7 separate regions of the Homo sapiens genome follow, and regions 1, 2, 4, 5, 6 and 7 are each linked to region 3. Evidence: promoter capture Hi-C in human tissues and cell types (Jung and others, 2019). All regions are on one chromosome and are shown on one strand. Each heading gives the region's core, a stretch centred on a gene start or on the middle of the fragment in contact. The rest is flanking DNA. Distances are from core to core; before and after follow the strand shown. Region 1 has its middle 470 kb from the start of SHISA9. Region 2 overlaps LOC107984137 (a long non-coding RNA gene). Region 3 holds the start of SHISA9 (shisa family member 9). Region 4 has its middle 430 kb from the start of SHISA9. Region 5 overlaps LOC107984137 (a long non-coding RNA gene). Region 6 has its middle 460 kb from the start of SHISA9. Region 7 has its middle 490 kb from the start of SHISA9.

The links. Contacts are between HindIII fragments. The study calls those that stand out against the background at their distance.
Region 1: a contact is called between a fragment that was not itself captured here and the fragment with the promoter of SHISA9 in region 3, in 3 of the 25 tissues and cell types used here (bladder, lymphoblastoid cells and mesendoderm cells).
Region 2: a contact is called between a fragment that was not itself captured here and the fragment with the promoter of SHISA9 in region 3, in 4 of the 25 tissues and cell types used here (dorsolateral prefrontal cortex, heart right ventricle, liver and 1 more).
Region 4: a contact is called between a fragment that was not itself captured here and the fragment with the promoter of SHISA9 in region 3, in 2 of the 25 tissues and cell types used here (mesendoderm cells and thymus).
Region 5: a fragment that was not itself captured here is called in contact with the fragment with the promoter of SHISA9 in region 3 in 5 of the 25 tissues and cell types used here (H1 embryonic stem cells, dorsolateral prefrontal cortex, lymphoblastoid cells and 2 more).
Region 6: a fragment that was not itself captured here is called in contact with the fragment with the promoter of SHISA9 in region 3 in 6 of the 25 tissues and cell types used here (H1 embryonic stem cells, dorsolateral prefrontal cortex, hippocampus and 3 more).
Region 7: a contact is called between a fragment that was not itself captured here and the fragment with the promoter of SHISA9 in region 3, in 4 of the 25 tissues and cell types used here (dorsolateral prefrontal cortex, hippocampus, lymphoblastoid cells and 1 more).

Annotation. Positions count from the first base shown.
Region 1 is chr16:13,374,239-13,376,957 of GRCh38, reverse strand. It overlaps a transcript of SHISA9 not described here. Among named protein-coding and RNA genes, the nearest start is that of SHISA9, 470 kb to the right of the region's middle. The HindIII fragment of the contact is 5,336 bases long and covers 1-2,719 here.
Region 2 is chr16:13,252,795-13,255,612 of GRCh38, reverse strand. All of the region lies in intron 1 of LOC107984137 (a long non-coding RNA gene), which reads right to left. It also overlaps a transcript of SHISA9 not described here. Among named protein-coding and RNA genes, the nearest start is that of SHISA9, 350 kb to the right of the region's middle. The HindIII fragment of the contact is 4,487 bases long and covers 1-2,818 here.
Region 3 is chr16:12,900,327-12,903,026 of GRCh38, reverse strand. SHISA9 (shisa family member 9) reads right to left here and starts at 1,429. Exons shown (of 5, transcript NM_001145204.3): 1 at 400-1,429. The coding sequence starts at 962. The HindIII fragment of the contact is 6,671 bases long and covers 1-2,700 here.
Region 4 is chr16:13,327,272-13,329,971 of GRCh38, reverse strand. It overlaps a transcript of SHISA9 not described here. Among named protein-coding and RNA genes, the nearest start is that of SHISA9, 430 kb to the right of the region's middle. The HindIII fragment of the contact is 4,216 bases long and covers 1-2,700 here.
Region 5 is chr16:13,309,727-13,312,657 of GRCh38, reverse strand. All of the region lies in intron 2 of LOC107984137 (a long non-coding RNA gene), which reads right to left. It also overlaps a transcript of SHISA9 not described here. Among named protein-coding and RNA genes, the nearest start is that of SHISA9, 410 kb to the right of the region's middle. The HindIII fragment of the contact is 3,497 bases long and covers 1-2,931 here.
Region 6 is chr16:13,356,667-13,359,366 of GRCh38, reverse strand. It overlaps a transcript of SHISA9 not described here. Among named protein-coding and RNA genes, the nearest start is that of SHISA9, 460 kb to the right of the region's middle. RefSeq lists an enhancer at 1,016-1,962. The HindIII fragment of the contact is 3,925 bases long and covers 1-2,700 here.
Region 7 is chr16:13,390,531-13,393,435 of GRCh38, reverse strand. It overlaps a transcript of SHISA9 not described here. Among named protein-coding and RNA genes, the nearest start is that of SHISA9, 490 kb to the right of the region's middle. RefSeq lists an enhancer at 2,725-2,774. The HindIII fragment of the contact is 6,176 bases long and covers 1-2,905 here.

The sequences.
Region 1 (2,719 bases), core at 17-2,516, 470 kb before region 3:
TGCCTGTAATGCCAGCATTTTGGGATGCCAAGGCGGGTGGATCACTTGAGTGCAGGAGTTCGAAACCAGCCTGGGCAACACATCTCTACAAGAAATACAAAAATTAGCTGGGCATAGTGGTGTGCACCTGTAGTCTCAGCTACTCAGGAGGCTGAGGTGGGAGGATCGCCCAAGAGGTCAAGGCTGCAGTGAGCTGAGTTCATGCCACTGCACTCCAGCCTGGGCAATGGAGTGAGACCCTGTCTCCAAAAAGATAAGAAAGAAAATAAACACCCTATAATTTACAGAATAAGGGATGTTCTTTCAGCTCCACCCCTGGAAACAGAAATTTAATTTTTAACCAATCTAAAATAAAAAAAATCCATGTGTTTGCTCATAGCCATGGTCCTGATTCAATTTTCTGCAACTTTACTTTCTCTTGGACTCTCTGGAAAAAAACAGCTCTGGTTATAGAGGTAAAAGCTGAAATGACTTCAGATACATTAGAGAGGTGAGTGGGCTGACATGGGATTTCCCCACCTGGCTGTAAATGTGCTGAGAAGCATGTAGTCATATAAGTGTGTTGACATCATCTTCACACTTTCTGAAGATTCTTCCAGAGAATCAGTCAGGCTCCAGGAGTGACTAGACCTCCAAATTATTATGCCATGACTCTATCTAAAATATCACCTGAACATATTATAATTGCTCAAAATATTTACTGCCACTCCCTAAGGGAGGATTATACATTTGTGTTCATTGAAACCATGTTTTAGCCATATGACGTGCTTATGCCATTGGAATGTGAACCAAAATGATGTGGAACAATTATGAGCAGAATTTTTCAGAGTCATTGTGTGGTATTTCATTTTCTCTCTTTTTTCTAGGGAACACAATTATCAATGTCCAAGATGGACTTCTTCCATCACCTGGGTACCTGTTTTGATTGCTGTAACTTTTGAAATCAGAAAACGTGAGTTTTCCAATTTTAAGATTTTTTTTTTCCCACTATTTGAAACCCCTTGTATTTTGCTACTTGAAACCCCATATAAATTTTAGGATCAGCCTGCCAAATGCTGCAAAAACGGGAGCTAGGATTTTGATAGGTGTTGGGTTGAATCTTCAGATCTATTTGGAGAGTGTTGCCATTTTAGCAATATTAAGTCTTCTTATCCATGAATACAGGATAGCTTTCCACTTACTTAGGTCTTCTTTAGTTGCTTTCAGTGATGTGTTGTAGTGTTTAGTGTACAAGTCTTAGGCTTCTTTTCTTAATTTCTTAAGTTTTTTGTTTTTTTGTTTTTTGGCTATTGCTAATGGAATTGTTTTCTTAGTTTTCTTTTTGGATGTTTTCTTTTTTCTATTTGAAAGTCACGCTACCTGACTTCAAACTATACTACAAGGCTACAGTAACCAAAACAGCATGGTACTGGTACCAAAACAGAGATATAGACCAATGGAACAGAACAGAGCTCTCAGAAATAATACCACACATCTACAACCACCTGATCTTTGACAAACCTGACAAAAACAAGAAATGGGGAAAGGATTCCCTATTTAATAAATGGTGCTGGGAAAACTGGCTAGCCATATGTAGAAAGCTGAAACCAGATCCCTTCCTTACATCTTATACAAAAATTAATTCAAGATGGATTAAAGACTTAAATGTTAGACCTAAAACCATAAAAACTCTGGAAGAAAACCTAGGCAATACCATTCAGGACATAGGCATGGGAAAGGACTTCATGACTGAAACACCAAAAGCAATGGCAACAGAAGCCACAATTGACAAATGGGATCTAATTAAACTAAAGAGCTTCTGCACAGCAAAAGAAACTACCATCGGAGTGAACAGGCAACCTACAGAATGGGAGAAAATTTTTACAATCTACCCACCTGACAAAGGGCTAATATCCAGAATCTACAAAGAACTTAAACAAATTTACGAGAAAAAATCAAACAACCCCACCCCATCAAAAAGTGGGCAAAGGATATGAACAGACGCTTCTCAAAAGAAGACATTTATGCAGCCAACAGACACATGAAAAAATGCTCATCATCGCTGGCCATCAGAGAAATGCAACTCAAAACCACAATGAGATACCATCTCACACCAGTTAGAATGGCAGTCATTAAAAAGTCAGGAAACAACAGATGCTGGAGAGGATGTGGAGAAATAGGAACACTTCTACACTGTTGGTGGGACTGTAAACTAGTTCAACCATTGTGGAAGACAGTGTGGCGATTCCTCAAGGATCTAGTACTAGAAATACCATTTGACCCAGGCATCCCATTAATAGGCATATACCCAAAGAACTATAAATCATGCTGCTATAAAGACACATGCACACATATGTTTATTGCAGCACTATTCACAATAGCAAAGACTTGGAACCAACCCAAATGTCCATCAATGATAGACTGGATTAAGAAAATGTGGCACATATACACCATGGAATACTATGCAGCCATAAAAAAGGATGAGTTCATGTCCTTTGTAGGGACATGGATGAAGCTAGAAACCATCATTCTGAGCAAACTATTGCAAGGACAGAAAAACAAACACCACATGTTCTCACTCATAGGTGGGAATTGAACAAAGAGGACACTTGGACACAAGGTGGGGAACATCACACACTGGGGTCTGTCATGGATGGAGGGCCAGGGGAGGGATAGCATTAGGAAATATACCTAATGTAAATGACGAGTTAACGGGTGCAGCACACCAACATGGCACATG
Region 2 (2,818 bases), core at 216-2,715, 350 kb before region 3:
GGAAATTGAGGCAGCTCCTAACATCACAAGCTTTGGAATCAGCCAGATCTGGATTTCACTTCTGCCTTCTGAACTTGAATGGTACTTTTTTTAGACAACAGAAGTAGGAGTGAAAGATGGCAGTGATGGTTTAATGTGAACTGACCTAAAGATAGAATGAATCCTTTGTATGTATATGAAAGAGAAAGACACACACATAAAGAGACACAGAGTCCCAAAGATAGAGGGCAAGAGAGAAGAGACATAAGGTCAAACAGAGAGAATGTGTTTCAGAGAAAGGCAGATCTCAGAGGATGAGAAATGCATGAAACAAAAAGGAAGAAAGATGCCTAGACAGAAAGAGAATGAGAGAGGGAGAGAGAGAGACAGAAAGGGGAAGAATTGAGGGAGAGGAAGAGGAACAGAGAGGAAAAGGAGCATGAAGGAGAAAGATATAGTCAAAGTAGAACCATAGCAAGAGAGAGAAGAGGAAGTGTGAGAAAGCAGTGAGAGGTTAGGGGACGTAACAGGCATCAGTGATGTCCTCCACCTGCTAAAGCCAGGTATCCAAGTCTGCAGTGTTATTAGATAGAGGAGCAAAGAAGAAAAAGAGGATGATATAGAAAGAAGGAAAAAAAATTAAAGAAGCTCCTCCTGGGAGGTGAGGGGAACAGATACTTTCCTGCTGCTCAAACAGCTCAAGTTCAGGTTCAGGCCTGATCCTCTGCTACTTGGTATTAATCTACTGATCCATTACAAGACCACGTCGCCTCTGGGCAACACCTGCTCAACAAGGCTCCTGGCACTTAACAAGCCCGGAAGGGACTGTTTCTTCATTTGTTGAAGTCCAGTGCTTTCACTTTGCCCCAAGGTGTCCGCTGAGGATTCACTGGGAAGCCCCAAAGACAGGAGCATTTTGATGTTGCTTCTGAAGAATTTGCCACCTGAAAGACTCTATTTGGTTCTGGGGGAGGTGATTAGTGGGGCCAAGAGGCCCCTTTCTGGAAAGAACGTCATGGTAATTGCTGACAGCCCGCTGTACGATGGATGGAAAAGTCCAGAAATAACAAGAATAATGAATAAGCAATCAGTCTATTCTCAAGTCTGCTATTATTGCCTTTCTAATTGGGTGTCTCAGAGTCTCCTGGGATTCCCTAAACTCTGTTCCCAGAGAGACCTAGCAACCAAGGCTGGTGACATAATAACTCGTAACAAACCCTCCGGTTGGAACTGATGGTCATGCTGGAAGCAGTGACAAGTGGTCCTGTTGTCTTATCTTCTCTCTCCCCTAAATCTGTGAAGGCTGGACATGGAAAGTTTTGGACCAGATGATAGACTTGAGTCTGAATCCCAGTTCTGCCAATTTCTAGCTGCTTGGCTTTGGGCAAATCACTTCATCTAAAATTAGGGTTAATAGTTCCCACCTCATATGATTTGTGTGAAGACAACTGCTAATGTATGCAAATTGCCTGGCACATAGTAGACTTTCAATAAATGGTAATTATTAGTATTATTATTATAGAGGGCATCTTTGGCAAGGATAGAAAAGATTGGCAGCCTGACAAAGATGAAGCCAGAGCTCCATTTTGAAAACTACCACTGAAGTGTGCAGTAGCCCTAATTAGAATTTTTGTTAAGTTCTGATAATGAGAAATGTTTGAGAAGACATTTTTCAGTCTCCCTGAAGAAAACAGGAAGTGGAAGGATTTTTAAAAAGTGAAAAAAAAAGTAACCTTCAGTAATGTCTTATTTTTCTCTTCCTAATCTTGGTGAATGTTAAAATAAATTGGATGAAATGTGTCACCTTTTGACCTTATGGGGACGTTTCATAATACTCCTGTCCATGGATAATTAATGCCCAAGTGGATATATTTCTGATATGGTTTGGCTGTGTCCCCACCCAAATCTCATCTTGAATTTTAGCTCCCATAATTCTCATGTGTTGTGGGAGGGATCTTGTGGGAGATAATTGAATCATGGGGTGGTTTCCTCCATACTGTTTTTGCCATAGTGAATAAGTCTCACGAGATCTGATGGTTTTATAAATGGGAGTTCCCCTGCACAAGCTCTCTTGCCTGCCACAATGCAAGATTCGACTTTGCTTCTTTTTTACCTTCTACCATGATTGTGAGGCCTCCCCAGCCACGTGGAACTGTAAGTCCATTAAACCTCTTCTTATATAAATTACCCAGCCTTCGGTATGTCTTTATTAGCAGTGGAGAACAGACTAACACACACTGCCATCTCCCTTGTACCTTTGGACAGGTGTTCCCATAAGCACTGATGACGTTGACATGATAGTAGAAGAGATGCACCTCAAACCTCAGCCTCACGATACAGTTGACTCTTGAACAACTCCTACCCCCACACAGTCAAAAATCTGCATATAACTTTCGACTATTCCAAAATTTAACTAGTAGTAGCCTATTATTGACCAGAAATCCTACTAATAATAAAACAGTCAAGTAACACACATTTTGCATGTTATATGTATTACATACTGTATTCTTATAATAAAGTAAGCTAGAGAAAATAAAATGTTATTATTAAGAAAATCACGAGGAAGGGAAAATATATTTCCTATTTATTAAGTGGAAGTGGATCATCATGAAGGTCTTCATCCTCATCGTCTTCATTTTGAGGAGGCTAAAGAAGAGGAGTGAGAAGAGGAGTTGGTCTTGCTATTTCAGGGGTGGTACAGGCAGAAGAAAATGCAAGTATAAATGGACCTACACAGTTCAAACCCATGTTGTTCAAGGGTCAACTGTATTTCCTTTCATTCATTCATTAATTCATTCAACAAATATTTATTGAATGCCTATGTTCCAGGTACCGTGGT
Region 3 (2,700 bases), core at 180-2,679:
CCCTGTTTACCAAAAAGCTAGCACCTGGAATCCGAGGGGTGCCATGGACCCTCTCCCCAAACCCGAAGATTTCGGGGCCACGGGCTCCCAGGCTACGTGTCTCAAGTCCGCCTCAGTCACCAGCGGGAGGAGGCGGCCAGAGGGTGAGGGAGCAGAGTCACACACACACACACACACGCTCACACACACACGAACACGCTCAGACCCACACCTGTGCTGAGCCCAGCGCCCCTTCTCCGTGTTCCAAGCCGAAGTTGGCTTCCCGGTGACATCCCCCAGCGGAGAGGCTGGGATGCGGGGAGCGGGGACCGTGGGGAGCGCCATTGCCTGGGGGAAGGTGGGGAGGAGAGAGCAGGGAGAGCGAAGCCCCGAGGGGAGGGCGAAGGGGAGGCAGCCCACCTGGACATGTGCTCCCTTTGGGGCCGGTGCGCTTTCTCCAGCCCCAGCTTGGTGAAGATGCCCACGAGCACCATGACGGCCACCACCCCGCAGATGATGTAGACGATCAGGTTGGTCTTGTCCTTGGTGGGGTCGTGCAAGGGGTCGTCCTTGCGGGCGGGGGGCTTGCCGGTGTTGAGCCAGAGCGGCGTGTCGTAGTTGGTGCAGGTGCTTTGGTTCAGTCGCCGCTTCTTAAACGTGCAGCAGAACCGGAAGCCACAAGTCCCGCAGCAGAAGATGAAGTCGCCCGAGCTGCAGTTGAACGGCGGGTCCCACTGGCCCATGACATCGAAGTAGCCCCGGCAGAAGTCCGGCGTGGGCGCCCGGGTCGGGGGCGCGTCCGATGCCTCAGCGCCCTCGCTGGCCTCTCCGGAGGCGGCCCCGGAGCGGTTGCCCCCCGCCAGCAGCAACACGCCGCCCAGTTGCGCCAGCTGCCCGTGTCCCGCTCGCTCCTGCGCCCGGCACACGCGGGCGCACAGCTCGGTGAGGAAGCAACCGAGGAGCAGCCGAAGGACGCGGCGCATGGTGTCTCCCAGCCCGGGCTCGGCCGCTCGGCCGCCGCTGGAGCCTCTGCGGCCGCCTCTCGAGGCGCGGCCGAAGCTGCCGAGGCTGCTGCCGGGAGCTGCGAGCCGCCGCGGGCCGCACATGCAGGGAGCGGCGCGGGGCGCTCGGTGGTCGGCGGCCACTGCGCTCGGCTCAGCCCGCGTTCGCCTCAGCCCGCGTTCGCCTCCAGCGCGCCGCGCGCCGAGGGGCCGGCCGGGGAGGAGCGCGCCCGGCCGGGCGGGGGGAGGATGAGCGGGGTCAAGCGCGGGGTGCAGGTCCGGCCGGCCACTGGGTGAGGCGGGGGTGGAGAGCAGAGGAGAATCGGGCTGGCAGCGCCTAGCCTTGGCCGGCAGCCCCGGACTGGCCGCCCCTAGCCCTCTCGCAGTATCCCTCTCACCTCACCAGCTCGCCAAGTGCGCTGAAGAGAGCGAAGCGACACTTGTGGAATGAAGGGAGGGCAGGAGGGAAGGGGGAGGGGGAGGAGGGCGGGCAGAGGAGGCGCGGGTGGGGGGGGGCGGGCGCGAGCTCTAGAGGGGCGGGGGCGCGGGGAAGAGGTGACTAGAGCGGGAGCTAGCTGGGGGGCGTGCAGAGCTGAGCCAGGCGAGCGGACGGGGAGGAGCGAGCTCGGCAGCAGCCGAGGCTAGAGGAGCCGCTCGGATTTCCAGGCAGGTGGAAAACCGCGGCAGGACCTCCCGCGCCCTCTCTGGGTAGGAGGCGCGGCTCAGCCCTGTCCAGAGCGCAGAGGCGGCTCAGCTCGTAGCTTTTTCACCGGTGCGTGTGCAGGAGCGGCGGCCGAAATCTGTGCATCAGGGGAAGGATGACTCGGAGAGGATGGGGACAGACTAAATGGCTTTCACTCCAAGACAGACTGGGTGCAGTCTGGTCAGGATCGCCCCTCCCAGGCGTGCGGGGCCTCCTTGCCCTTCCCGGCTGCGCCCTCCAGCCCTGAGCGCAACCCGCATGGCTCAACTCTCTGGGCCCAAGCAAGGACCCAGGCGGAGCTGGGAAGGACAGGTGGCAAGCCCCTGAGCCAGGGATAAGCACCCTCCGGGGGAGAGGGGCTCGGGATGAACGAATCAAAGAAGGTCGGGGGTAAGAGGGGACAGCCGAACAAGGCCGAGGCTATGGCGTGTCCTGGAAGGTCTTTCCTTGGAAGTCCCCCAGCCTCTCGAACCTGCCGCTTTCTGTCCCTCTTCGCCCCCGCAGCGTTTTCTGCGCTCCACAGGAGGGAACACCGCGGCGCCGCCTCTGCGCTCCCGGATCTGGCGCAGCGCAAGGCCTGGGCACCCAGCCTCAGCCACCCTCCCGGACCTGGAGCCCGCGCATCGGTCTCTGGAGCTGGCTGGCCCCTGTCCCCACGGATCCCCCCGGAAATCCTCACCGGGGGCTGCAGAGCTCTGCCTTGCTTCCTCAGCTTCCAGCCTCCCGTCTCCTCTGTGTTTCCAAATCTGCCCTCTCTCTCCTAGCGAATTCCAGCTCCCCGGAGGCCCTCTCTCATTTCTCCCACCTCTTTCTCTCCTCTGCTTGAATTTGACTCCAGTAGCCCCAAAACAGGATTTGCACCAAAGCTGCTACACCAAATTTAGATCTCCCCACGCCCCGGCGTTTTGTTTTTTAATTGCATTAACTAAGTATACACTTTGCAGGCTGCTAGGCGATTTGCAAGGAGATAATGTTTCCACAACCCTCCTCTCCACTTGGCTGCAGTCAAGGGCTTCT
Region 4 (2,700 bases), core at 69-2,568, 430 kb before region 3:
AATACAATATAATTAATGCTCAAGGCAAAGATACTGGGGGACGATTTATTGGATATCTGAGGAACTGCATGATTTCAGAGCTAAAACTATCCTTAAGAACCATCTAGTTCTAGCTCTTCATGAAAAGTCAAGAAATTGAACCCGAACAAACAACCCCAAATATCTTTCCAGGACGGACGCAACAATAAGCCATCATTTAGCTCAAGGTCTGCAGGTTGGCTAGGGGTGGGCTAGGAATTCACTGGCATGGCTCTACCTTTCTGCTGTTCTTTTCATCCAGCAGGTTGTCCTGGGCATGTTATTCTCCTAGCATGGAGGAGATGCAAGAGGGCAAAGGGAAACTCACAGGCCTGGGAAGGAGTAGTCTTGGAATTTTACATCACCTCAGCTTATTCTGTTGCCTAAAGAGAGTGACATAGCAGAACTCAAATTAGAGGAGTGGGAAGAAAATGAAAAGTCAACAAGGAAAATGATGTGGCTGGAGGGAGGGGTGAAGAATTAGGATCAACAATGCAACCTAGCACATGGATTTTAATCTGTATCCTTAACCCAGTAAGGCAGTGTCATTGTCTGAGGTAAATACCCAGGGTTCATCGTCTTGCCCCAAGAAGATGAGGATGCCAACACACACAAGGAGACAAGGAGTGAATTTAGGAGCGGAGGTTTAATAGAAGAAAGAGAAAGGAGAACAGCTCTCTCGCTTGCAAGAAAGAGGGGCGCCGGAAAGGAAAAACCAGCCTGCAGCAGACTGCTCCTGATTTTACAGGCAGGCTTGAGGAGGCTGTGTGTGATTTACTTAGCGAGCAGGGAAGGCTGGTCGCCCTACCCCAATCTTATTATGCAAATGGGGCCTTTGCCTGGCCAGCGTCATGTTGTCTTCTCCTTCCTGTACATGAGGTTTAGCAAAAAGAAGGGAAGATGGAGGCGCCATTTTTAACCTGCCTAGTCCCAGGCAGCCATTTTCTACTTGCACAACTGCCGGCATTCAACGGTGCAAGCTTCCAGCTCGCTTGTCTATGTCTGCAGCTCAATTTTACAGGGTGCTCCTTGTTAGGGAAAAAAAATGATTTGGGGGCTGCTTTTCATTGAAAGGAAAATGTTACTGAGGACTTCTGTATTCTCACTATCTGCCTAAATAATTTCTTCTTAACTCCTATATCACCAGTGCAGTAGGCTGCCTCTTATGAAAAATGTTGCTAGGCTGGGTATGGTGGCTCACACCTGTAATCCCAGCACTTTGGGAAGCTGAGGCGGGTGGATCGCCCGAGGTCAGGGGTACAAGACCAGCCTGGCCAACGTGGCAAAATCACGTCTCTGATAAAAATACAATATATATGTGTGTGTGTGTGTGTGTGTGTGTGTGTGTGTGTGTGTGTGTGTATACACATATATTTAGCCAGGCGTGGTGGTGGGCACCTGTAATTCTAGCTACTCAGAAGGCTGAGGCAGGAGAATCATTTGAACCTGGGAGGCAGAGGTGGCAGTGAGCCAAGATCACGCCATTGCATTCCAGCCTGGGTGACAAGAGTAAAATTCCTTAAAAAAAAAAAAAAAGGAAAAAGAGAAGAAAAAGGAAAAGAAAAATGTTGCTAACATGGGGAGGTTCAAACCCCCTGGTGGGTAGCTGAATCTGCAGACCTTGCACTTGTAATCACACTGGTGTTGTCCAGGGCGAAAATAGACTCTAACTAGAAACAGACTCTTACTAGAGAGCTGGCATTTAGGAGTTATGTTTTCTTCCCTTTCTAATCTACTCCAGTCTGCCTAAGATTCTGTAGAAGTGCACAGGGGCTAGAAGAAGTGATGGTGAGAGGCCCCTGCTCGAGGCCGAGTTTGAAATTAAGAGGAGGGGGAATGGGAAATATCTGTATTTAGGGGAGTGGGAGGGGCAGTTGCTCTCCCTTTGCATGCATTTCAAAAACAGATTTCTTGCGCAAAGCTAATAAATGCGCATGATGTTGTTATGAGTACGATGAAAGATTTTAGGTGACACAAGTATTAAAGTACAACCTTGGCGGGGCACAGTGGCTCACACCTGTAATCCTAGCACTTTGGGAGGCCGAAGTGGGTGGATCACTCCAGGTCAGGAGTGCAAGGCCAGCCTGGCCAACATGGAGAAACCCTGTCTCTACTAAAAAAATACAAAAATTAGCCAGGCGTGGTGGCAGGGGCCAGTAATCCCAACTACTTGGGAGGCTGAGGCACGAGAATCACTTGAACTCGGGAGGCGGAGGTTTCAGTGAGTAGAGATCGTGCCACTGCACTCCTGCCAGGGCAACAAAGCAAGACCCTGTCTCAAAAAAAAAGTGCAATCTTGAGGCTCAAAGAAAGGCAAGAGCTATGCCTTTTCTTTTTTGAGACAGAGTCTTGCCCTGTCACCCAGGCTGGAGTGCAGCAGCTCGATCTCAGCTCACTGCAACCTCTGCCTCCTGGGTTCAAGTGATTCTCCTGCCTCAGTCTCCCGAGTGTCTGGGATTACAGGTGCACAACACCACAGCCACCTAATTTTTGTATTTTTAGTAGAGATGGAGTTTCACCATATTGGTCAGGCTGGTCTCGAACTCTTGACCTCAGGTGATCCACCTGCCTCGGCCTCCCAAAGTGCTGGGATTATAGGCATGAGACACCGCACGTGGCTATGCCTTTTCATGAGCTTGCTAATCTACTAACTAAAAAGTACAGGGTCCACCCCCAAAAGAC
Region 5 (2,931 bases), core at 407-2,906, 410 kb before region 3:
TATTGTAATCACATTTTGATAAATATATTTGATTTTCCTTGTCTGTGTCTGCTTCTCTGATGATTTCTTTTGAAGGGATGTCCAGTAGTGGCCAGAAGGGTGCTTAATATATCATGGATTCTGAATCAATGTTTGTCAAACTAATAAATGGTCTCTACAGTTTTAAGGCTCTTAGCATATTGTAAAACTGATTTTCAGCAAGTGTTCAAGGCAGTCGTCATTCAGTGTCTGTGAAATCCATGACTGAGGGGGGGACAGGAGGATTAGTTTATATTAGTTTCAATTGATTCTTTGAAAAGTGGGAAAAAGAGTGATGCCAGAAGGGTTACAGGAGCAGTTAACAAACTACTGTCCATGGGCCACATCTGGCCCACTGTCTGTTTTTGTAAATAAAGTTTTATTGAAACAAGACCACACCCATTTGCTTATAAATTTTCCATGCCTGCTTTCATGCTACAGCAGCACACTTGGGGCATTGTGCAAACACCACAGGACCCATAAAGCCTAAAATATTTGCTATCTGACCCTTTACAGAAATATTAGTAGACTTCTGGGCTAAAATATTTTGAAGAATAAGCCTAAAGTTGGTATACACTGGTTTTAAAACCAAGTGAGTCAGTTAGATTGTCCCCCTCTCTTCCTGGACATCCTTCCTGAAAGCCACTGGGCATACACTTTTCTCAGGAGAAAAATAATAAACTGTTGTATAATTTTAATATGTTACAGGCAGGGTTCTAAGTGCTTTACCTATTTTAGTTCATTTAATTTTCACAGCAATCCTATAGTTACTATTATTATCTATCTCGTTTTTACATATAAGGAAGTTGACTTGCACAAAATCGTAACTGGTAAGTAGTAGAGGAAGGAATCACGCTTGGAAGTGGAAATTCAGGGTCTGTGTTCCTACCTGCCACATAACACTGCCTCCTAAGAGAAATGAGAGAAGGAACCAACGAGAACAATCTCCATTTATTTGAAAGCGAAGTAAATACAGATAGTCTGGAGTGGACATTGTATGTCATCCCAGCTCACAATCACCCTCTGTAGTTGCTGCCTTAATCCACAAAGGTAGTCTTCTAGTAGCACTGTGTAATCAACATTACTCAGCCCAAGCTACTTGAAACCCACCAAGGCTGGACCAATCAGAGTCTTTTCCCTCCCAGGAGTTAAAAGGAAGAGAAAACGAGTCTCTACATGGGGCTGGGCTTGAGACGTATATTTGTAAAAGCTATTTAGGGTTGGCAGAAAAAAATATTGAATTCTCATTTAAGCTTATATTTCTAATAAACAATGAAATATTTTTAGTGTAAATACACCCAGTTATTGCGTAGGATGAACACTAAAAATCTTTATTCTTTAGCGGAAATTTAAATGTAATCAAGCATCAAACACATATATACGAGATACATAATATATAAAATATATATGTATCTATAAAGTTTTTGCTAAACCTGGTAGCCTTATGAATGTCTTTGTTTTGGAGAAATCTTGCATGAAGAGCAAGAAGAATCAGGCAGACAGAGAAGCAGAAACGAGAGACAGAGTATCTTCTAGGCCCTGCAATCCCTTTTTGCATTCTCACTCTTGGGTTTTACATGGACTCCTGCTTACAACCTGAAATCATCCTTAGAAGATAGTCCTTCAGTAGAAGATGTGAATGTTAAAGCATAAAATCAGGCCGGGTGTGGTGGCTCACGCCTGTAATACCAGCACGTTGGGAGGCCGAGGTGGGTGGATCACGAGGTCAAGAGATTGAGACCATCCTGGCCAACAGGATGAAACCCCGTCTCTACTAAAAATACAAAAATTAGCTGTGAATGGTGGCAGGCCCCTGTAGTCCCAGCTGCTTGAGAGGCTGAGGCAGGAGAATTGCTTGGACCTGGGAGGCCGAGGTTGCAGTGGGCCGAGATTGCACCACTGCACTCCAGCCTGGTGACAGAGCAAGACTCCGTCTCAAAAAAAAAAAAAAAAAAGCATAAAAATCAATGACATTAATTATAATGCAGTGGAGAATTTAGACCAAACATTCACATTTCTAATTTTTTGCTAAAAGTCCTTCAAGATAGAGGATTTCAGTAGACACATGATTCAACATGATGGCTTTTATTTCATCCTAACCTTATTGACTTAGAATGCCCCTATTAAATAATCACACCTCTAGGAATGATAACGTAAAAATCAAGATAGCAATTCTGTAGGTTGAGAGTGGGATAAGGCAGAGGAGGAACACACAAAGACCTTCAAATGAATTCATGGGGTTTATTTCTTAAACTATGTGATAAATATCTGGATGTTCACTAAACTGTTCTTTAAACATTTTTTATGTCCTAAATGTTTCATAGTAGAAAAAAAAAAGCAGCTTTTTAAAAGCCCACCTCCAGTCCTTGAATTCAGTTATAACTGTAACACGAGTTGAATGGAAAAGCTTAAAATTTGTTTTCTCTTGATTTGGCATTTAAAATACAGAACAGGCCGGGAGCAGTGGCTCACGCCTGTAATCCCAGCACTATGGGAGGCCGAGGCAGGTGGATCACCTGAGGTCAGCAGTTCAAGACCAGCCTGGCCAACATGGTGAAACCCCATCTCTACTAAAAATATAAAAATTAGCCAGGTATGGTGGCGCATTCTTGTAATCCCACCTACTTTGAGGGCTGAGGCAGGAGAATCACTTGAACTTGGGAGGCAGAGGTTGCAGTGAGCCGAGATCGTGCCATTGCACTCCAGCCTGGGCAACAAGAGTGAGACTCTGTCTCAAAATAAATAAATAAATAAATAAATAGATAAGTAAATAAATAAATAAAATACAGAACTTGGATTTTGTTTGGAGTTTTTTGTTTGTTTGTTGTTTTAGGTTTGGTCTAGTGTTCCCAAGAGTGTGGTCATGACCCATTATCTAGAATCTTAGCTTTCTAAGCACTGAGAACAGCACCT
Region 6 (2,700 bases), core at 173-2,672, 460 kb before region 3:
GGATTACAGGTGCCCACCACCACACCCAGCTATTTTTTTAGTATTTTTAGTAGAGACAGGGTTTCACCATGATAGCCAAGCTGGTTTTGAACTCCTGACCTCAAATGATCCACCCCGCCTTGACCTCCCCCCAAAAAATATTACAGTGAAAATGGCAACAGTATTAACAAGTTGATTCTCCTCAGTACTAATTATTGGAATTTTGAAGATTTATTGTTTTGCAGACTAGGATCTAAAACTGGACATTCTTCTGGAGAATCTAAAACTGGACATTCTTCTTCAGTTGAAGTCCAACGGATGGGAATTGCATTTCTCATCCTAATCAAGAAATTCTTTACCTTCAGGAATACAGAGCTATTAAAGTTCTAGGCTTCATGCCTCTGAGGAGGTATTCCAAAAATTCCATCAGTAATCTGCTAAGTTCAGTACCATACACAGTGTATTGAGGTCTTTTCCTGTATTCCTCATTCCAGCAGGTCCTTCTAACACTATTTGGTCCTAAAAACACCCTGTCTTCTAGGCCTGTCAATCATATCATGTTCATCTTTTTATGGCTCTGCTGAAAACAGCCAAGAGAAAGGTTATTACAGCTGCTGTTGATGTCTGGAACTCATAACTGTCAACAGTCTTATGTTGGTCAGGTATAAGGCAGAGAGGGGTTCCCATCTTTCTCTATCTGGAGGCCTTTCACTGGTTGGTTGAAGCACTTACAATTATGCTGAATGTATTGGTGAAAATTCTGAAAAGAGAATACTCTCTTACGGTTTTTGGGTCCTGAAGAATGTAAAGGAAAGGGAAGGAAATGGGAAGAGATAGAGGAATTGTATTAGCATCTACTTATGCCAGCAACATCCTCACGGAATATTTTATGTAATCCCCTTAGGTTGGTAACAGATTAGGTAGCTGATCTAAGAAAATGAGAGAGAACACGTGGACACAGCGAAGGGAACATCACACAGCACAGCCTGTTGGGGGGTGGGGGACAAAGGGAGGGACAGCATTAGAAGAGAGACTTTTTAAAGTCCAAAATCCCAAGCTTTTAAAACCAGGATTTGAATACAGGTATCTCACTCAAAACCCAGATGTCAAATATAGCACCTCATGCTCCCAGGTAGACATCACTAATCAATCAGGTCTTTTAGTCCATTGATTTCAGAATCCTTCTCACCCCAGTATCCCAGATAGTCACTACCAATCATAGCTAGTAGTGAGGGCCAATTGCTACCCTTTCCACTTGCTAAAACTTGCTGGATGAAGGAAGATTCTCTCTTTTCAAGGGAGGCCGTACCCATCACAGAGGCATACTGTCAGGCCTCTAAGCCCAAGCCAAGCCATCACATCCCCTGTGACCTGCACGTATATATATCGCCCAGATGGCCTGAAGTAACTAAAGAATCACAAAAGAAGTGAATATGCCCTGCCCCACCTTAACTGATGACATTCCACCACAAAAGAAGTGTAAATGGCCGGTCATTGCCTTAACTGATGACATTACCTTGTGAAAGTCCTTTTCCTGGCTCATCCTGGCTCAAAAAGCACCCCCACTGAGCACCTTGCGACCCCCACTCCTGCCCACTGAGCACCTTGCGACCCCCACTCCTACCCGCCAGAGAACAAACCCCCTTTGACTGTAATTTTCCTTTACCTATCCAAATCCTATAAAACGGCCCCACCCTATGTCCCTTCGCTGACTCTCTTTTTGGACTCAGCCCGCCTGCACCCAGGTGAAATAAACAGCCATGTTGCTCACACAAAGCCTGTTTGGTGGTCTCTTCACACGGACGCGCATGAAATTTGGTGCTGTGACTCGGATCGGGGGACCTCCCTTAGGAGACCAATCCCCTGTCCTCCTGCTCTTTGCTCCGTGACAAAGATCCACCTACGACCTCAAGTCCTCAGACCCACCAGCCCAAGAAACATCTCACCAATTTCAAATCCGGTAAGCGGCCTCTTTTTACTCTCTTCTCCAACCTCCCTCACTATCCCTCAACCTCTTTCTCCTTTCAATCTTAGCGCCACACTTCAATCTCTCCCTTCTCTTAATTTCAATTCCTTTCATTTTCTAGTAGAGACAAAAGAGACATGTTTTATCCGTGAACCCAAAACTCCGGCGCCGGTCACGGACTTCACCCTTAGCGGCAAGTCCCGCTTTCCTAGGGGGCAAGAACCCCCCAGTCGCTTATTTCCGCACCCCAGCCTCTTATCTCTGTGCCCCAATCCCTTATTTCCGTGCCCCAACCCCTTCTCTGCTTTTCTGGAGGGCAAGAACCCTCCACCCCTTCTCCGTGTCTCTACTGTTTTCTGTGGGTTTGCCTCCTTCACTATAGGTAAGCTTCCACCTTCCATTCCTCCTTCTTCTCCCTTAGCCTGTGTTCTCAAAAACTTAAAACCTCTTCAACTCACACCTGACCTAAAACCTAAATGCCTTTTCTTCTGCAATGCCGTTTGACCCCAATACAAACTCGACGGTAGTTCCAAATAGCCAGAAAATGGCACTTTGAATTTTTCCATCCTGCAAAATCTAAATAATTCTTGTCGTAAAATAGGCAAACGGTCTGAGGTGCCTGACGTCCAGGCATTCTTTTACACATCAGTCCCTTCCTAGTCTCTGTGCCCAGTGCAACTTGTCCCAAATCTTCCTTCTTACCCTCCCACCTGTCCCCTCAGAACCAACCCCAAGCGTCGCTGAGTCTTTCTAAT
Region 7 (2,905 bases), core at 64-2,563, 490 kb before region 3:
TAAGAAATTCAGACAAAGTAGATGGGATCTGATCGAAAGAGGGAAAGTTGGTGAGACATTTGGGGAAAGGAATGGCCACACAATTTTGGGGGGCCCAGTGCAAAGTGAAAATGCTGGGCTCTTGTTCAAAAATTAAGAATTTCAAGATGGCAACACCAGAGAATTAAAATAGGAGTGGGCCCTGTGTGACTGCACAGGTCACACACCCGTGGAGCTGGCCCTGCTTGGGGTATTTCAATCCCCCAACAGTGGATACAGTGAGCACGAGGGTATCAGGAGCAAACATCTGTGTGATCAGTTTGAAGCAGGTTTGGAATGGGGCCAGCTGATTGGTTCAGGGCACACCTTCCCCCAGGCCTGAAAGCCTCCATTTGGTTCCCATCAGTGGGCAGAATTTGTTCTCCCATCCTGGGGCGTTGTATTAGTTTCCAAGGGCTGCTGTAACAAGGTACCACGACCTGTTTCGCTTAAAAGCCAGACATTTATCATCTCACAGCTCTGGAGGGCCAAAATCAAGGTGTCAACAAAATTGGTTTCTTCTAAGGCTGTGAGTAAGAGAATCCCTTCCAGGCCTCTGCCTTAGCTTCTCGTGCTTTGCAGGCAGTCTTTGGTGCTCCTTGGTTTATATTAATAGAAGCAGATGGTCTCTGCCTTTATCTTCACACAGTGTTCTCCGTGTGTGCATATTTCTGTGTACAAATTTCCCCATTTTATATGACACCAGTCATATCGCAGCCTCCACAGCAAATCGGTTTTATTTCTTTAACCTCTTAACGCAGTGGGTGTTGGGACTTTAGAGACCTAAGACCTATGCTTTGGAGTACATCATTGTGAGCCTAGGTTAATCAGAGGGACTGTTTGACCTCTAAGTGATCTGTAATGCCGCCACCTGCTGATTCCATGCTGTAGTCCCTGGGCTGTAAAATGGAGCCCCAACTGAATTCAGTAAAAGGTCTACATCCTTCAGTAGGTGAATCAATAAACTGTGGTACATCCAGACAATGAAACATGTTTTCTTTTTTAAATGTATATATTTAAGGTGTACAATATAATGTTTTAATATACATGTACATAATGGAATGCTTTCCACTTTTACCATGAAAAATAGATTGTTATCTAGAACTAAAAAGAAGGGAGCTGTCAAGTCATCACACTCCAGTAGGGCCTTATCTTAACTAATCACAGCTCCAAAGAGTCTATTTCCAAAACAATCACATTCTAAGGCACTGGGAGTTAAGACTTCAACATAAGAATATTAGGAAGACACAACTAATCCATAACAGGTGTATTTAGGATGTTCGAGGTACCTTTACTCCCAGGGGTGAAGATACCTTTCCTCCCAGGAAAAAACCAGGTAGGAAAGCTGCCCTGCTGCACACCTCAGCTGGCAACACGTTGTTCCTCACCTCCACAATCACTGGCAGCAGATGGCTATAAACAGATACCAGCAAACCGGGACCATCAGACACTCGGGGCAAACCAAATGTCTGAGAATGAGGTAGTCACTTTTGAAGAATATCATTTGATTAAATCTGCATCATTCCAAACAGATGGACTTTTCATAGTCCTCTGACAGTCCCTGAATTGCCACCGTTATTACCCAACAGGTACAGTCATTTATTGAGCTACTTTACCTGCAGTCAGGTTACAGAGTTCAAAAACTTTGTTGCTTGGCTCCCAGGGTTATCCAAGATCAGAGGTCTGCAACCTTAGCTGCACAATGGAGTCACCTGGGGGCCTCCAAAAATATTGATTCCTGGATTCCACCCTTTAATTGATCTAGGGTGGAACCTGGACACTGAGATGTTTTTTAAGCTCTCAGGTGATCACAGTGCACTGCTAAGGTCTAGAACCACTGGCTTGGAACTCCCCCCGAACCCAGCCATCTGTGTAACTGTAATAATGCATATTGACTGCAGATGGCACGGCATAGATTCGTTGGGGACTGATTTTTGTTTGCTGCTTCCAAGTATAATACTTCAGTATCTCTTCTCTCTAACTCTGTAACACCAAGTGCCTTGTTTTCCCTTTCTTTAGCCTTTTTTCAGTTGTGAAGGAGCTAAATCTCTGCTGTACAGAGCTACAGTTTTGCTTACAAAGGCAAGACCTCAGATGGAAACTGAGGCCTACAGCAGCACAGTGAATTATACCAAGACTAAGTTAAGCAGATAATAGACTTATATTTAGTACAATTTAATGTAAGGAGCAATAATGTGGGCTATAGCATCTTTTTTCCAAGGGTTCATGTTGATCTCACTTACTCTATTCAGCAGGACACACTGCTTTATGGTTTCAGTGAATGTCACTCTATCTCTTGCCTTCTCTTCCTCTTACTGTCACTCTTATCAACTCTTTTCTACCCTCTCTTTAATTCTCATCCTCTTTCTCCACTCCTGTTCTCTCTCATGTTGTCTCCCCTTTTCTTTACTCTTTTCTCCTCAATATTCTTGCTTTCACAGATTGCCATGGTTGGAATGGAGATTCAGCAGCCAAAGTGTTACGAAAATCAAGATATGCCACATGCATACCCTGCAGTTGCCTGAGATATCTCAGACTGCCTCTTGTGAAAGATATGAGAAGACACACACAGCCAAGAGAAGTCACCTAAGTATTTCTTTTCATCAGCCCATGAAATCTTCTTTCTCCCAAAGCCTTTCTTTCCATTTTGTGGTGTCACCCAGCGTGCTGATCTCAGAAACTACCTGGAAAAGTGCTACACAAATGTGGGGAATCATAATAGTGAATGACTGTAACATGCTTGTTACAAGCCACATACCCTTCTAAGCATGTTGACAGATGAGACTGAAGAAAGAGGCAGGAGGTGATTTCAAGCCTAAGCTTGAAATCTTAAACGTGCTCTTAAACGTGACTTAGTGTTGAAAGCACTTCAGAAAAGGGCAGCAGC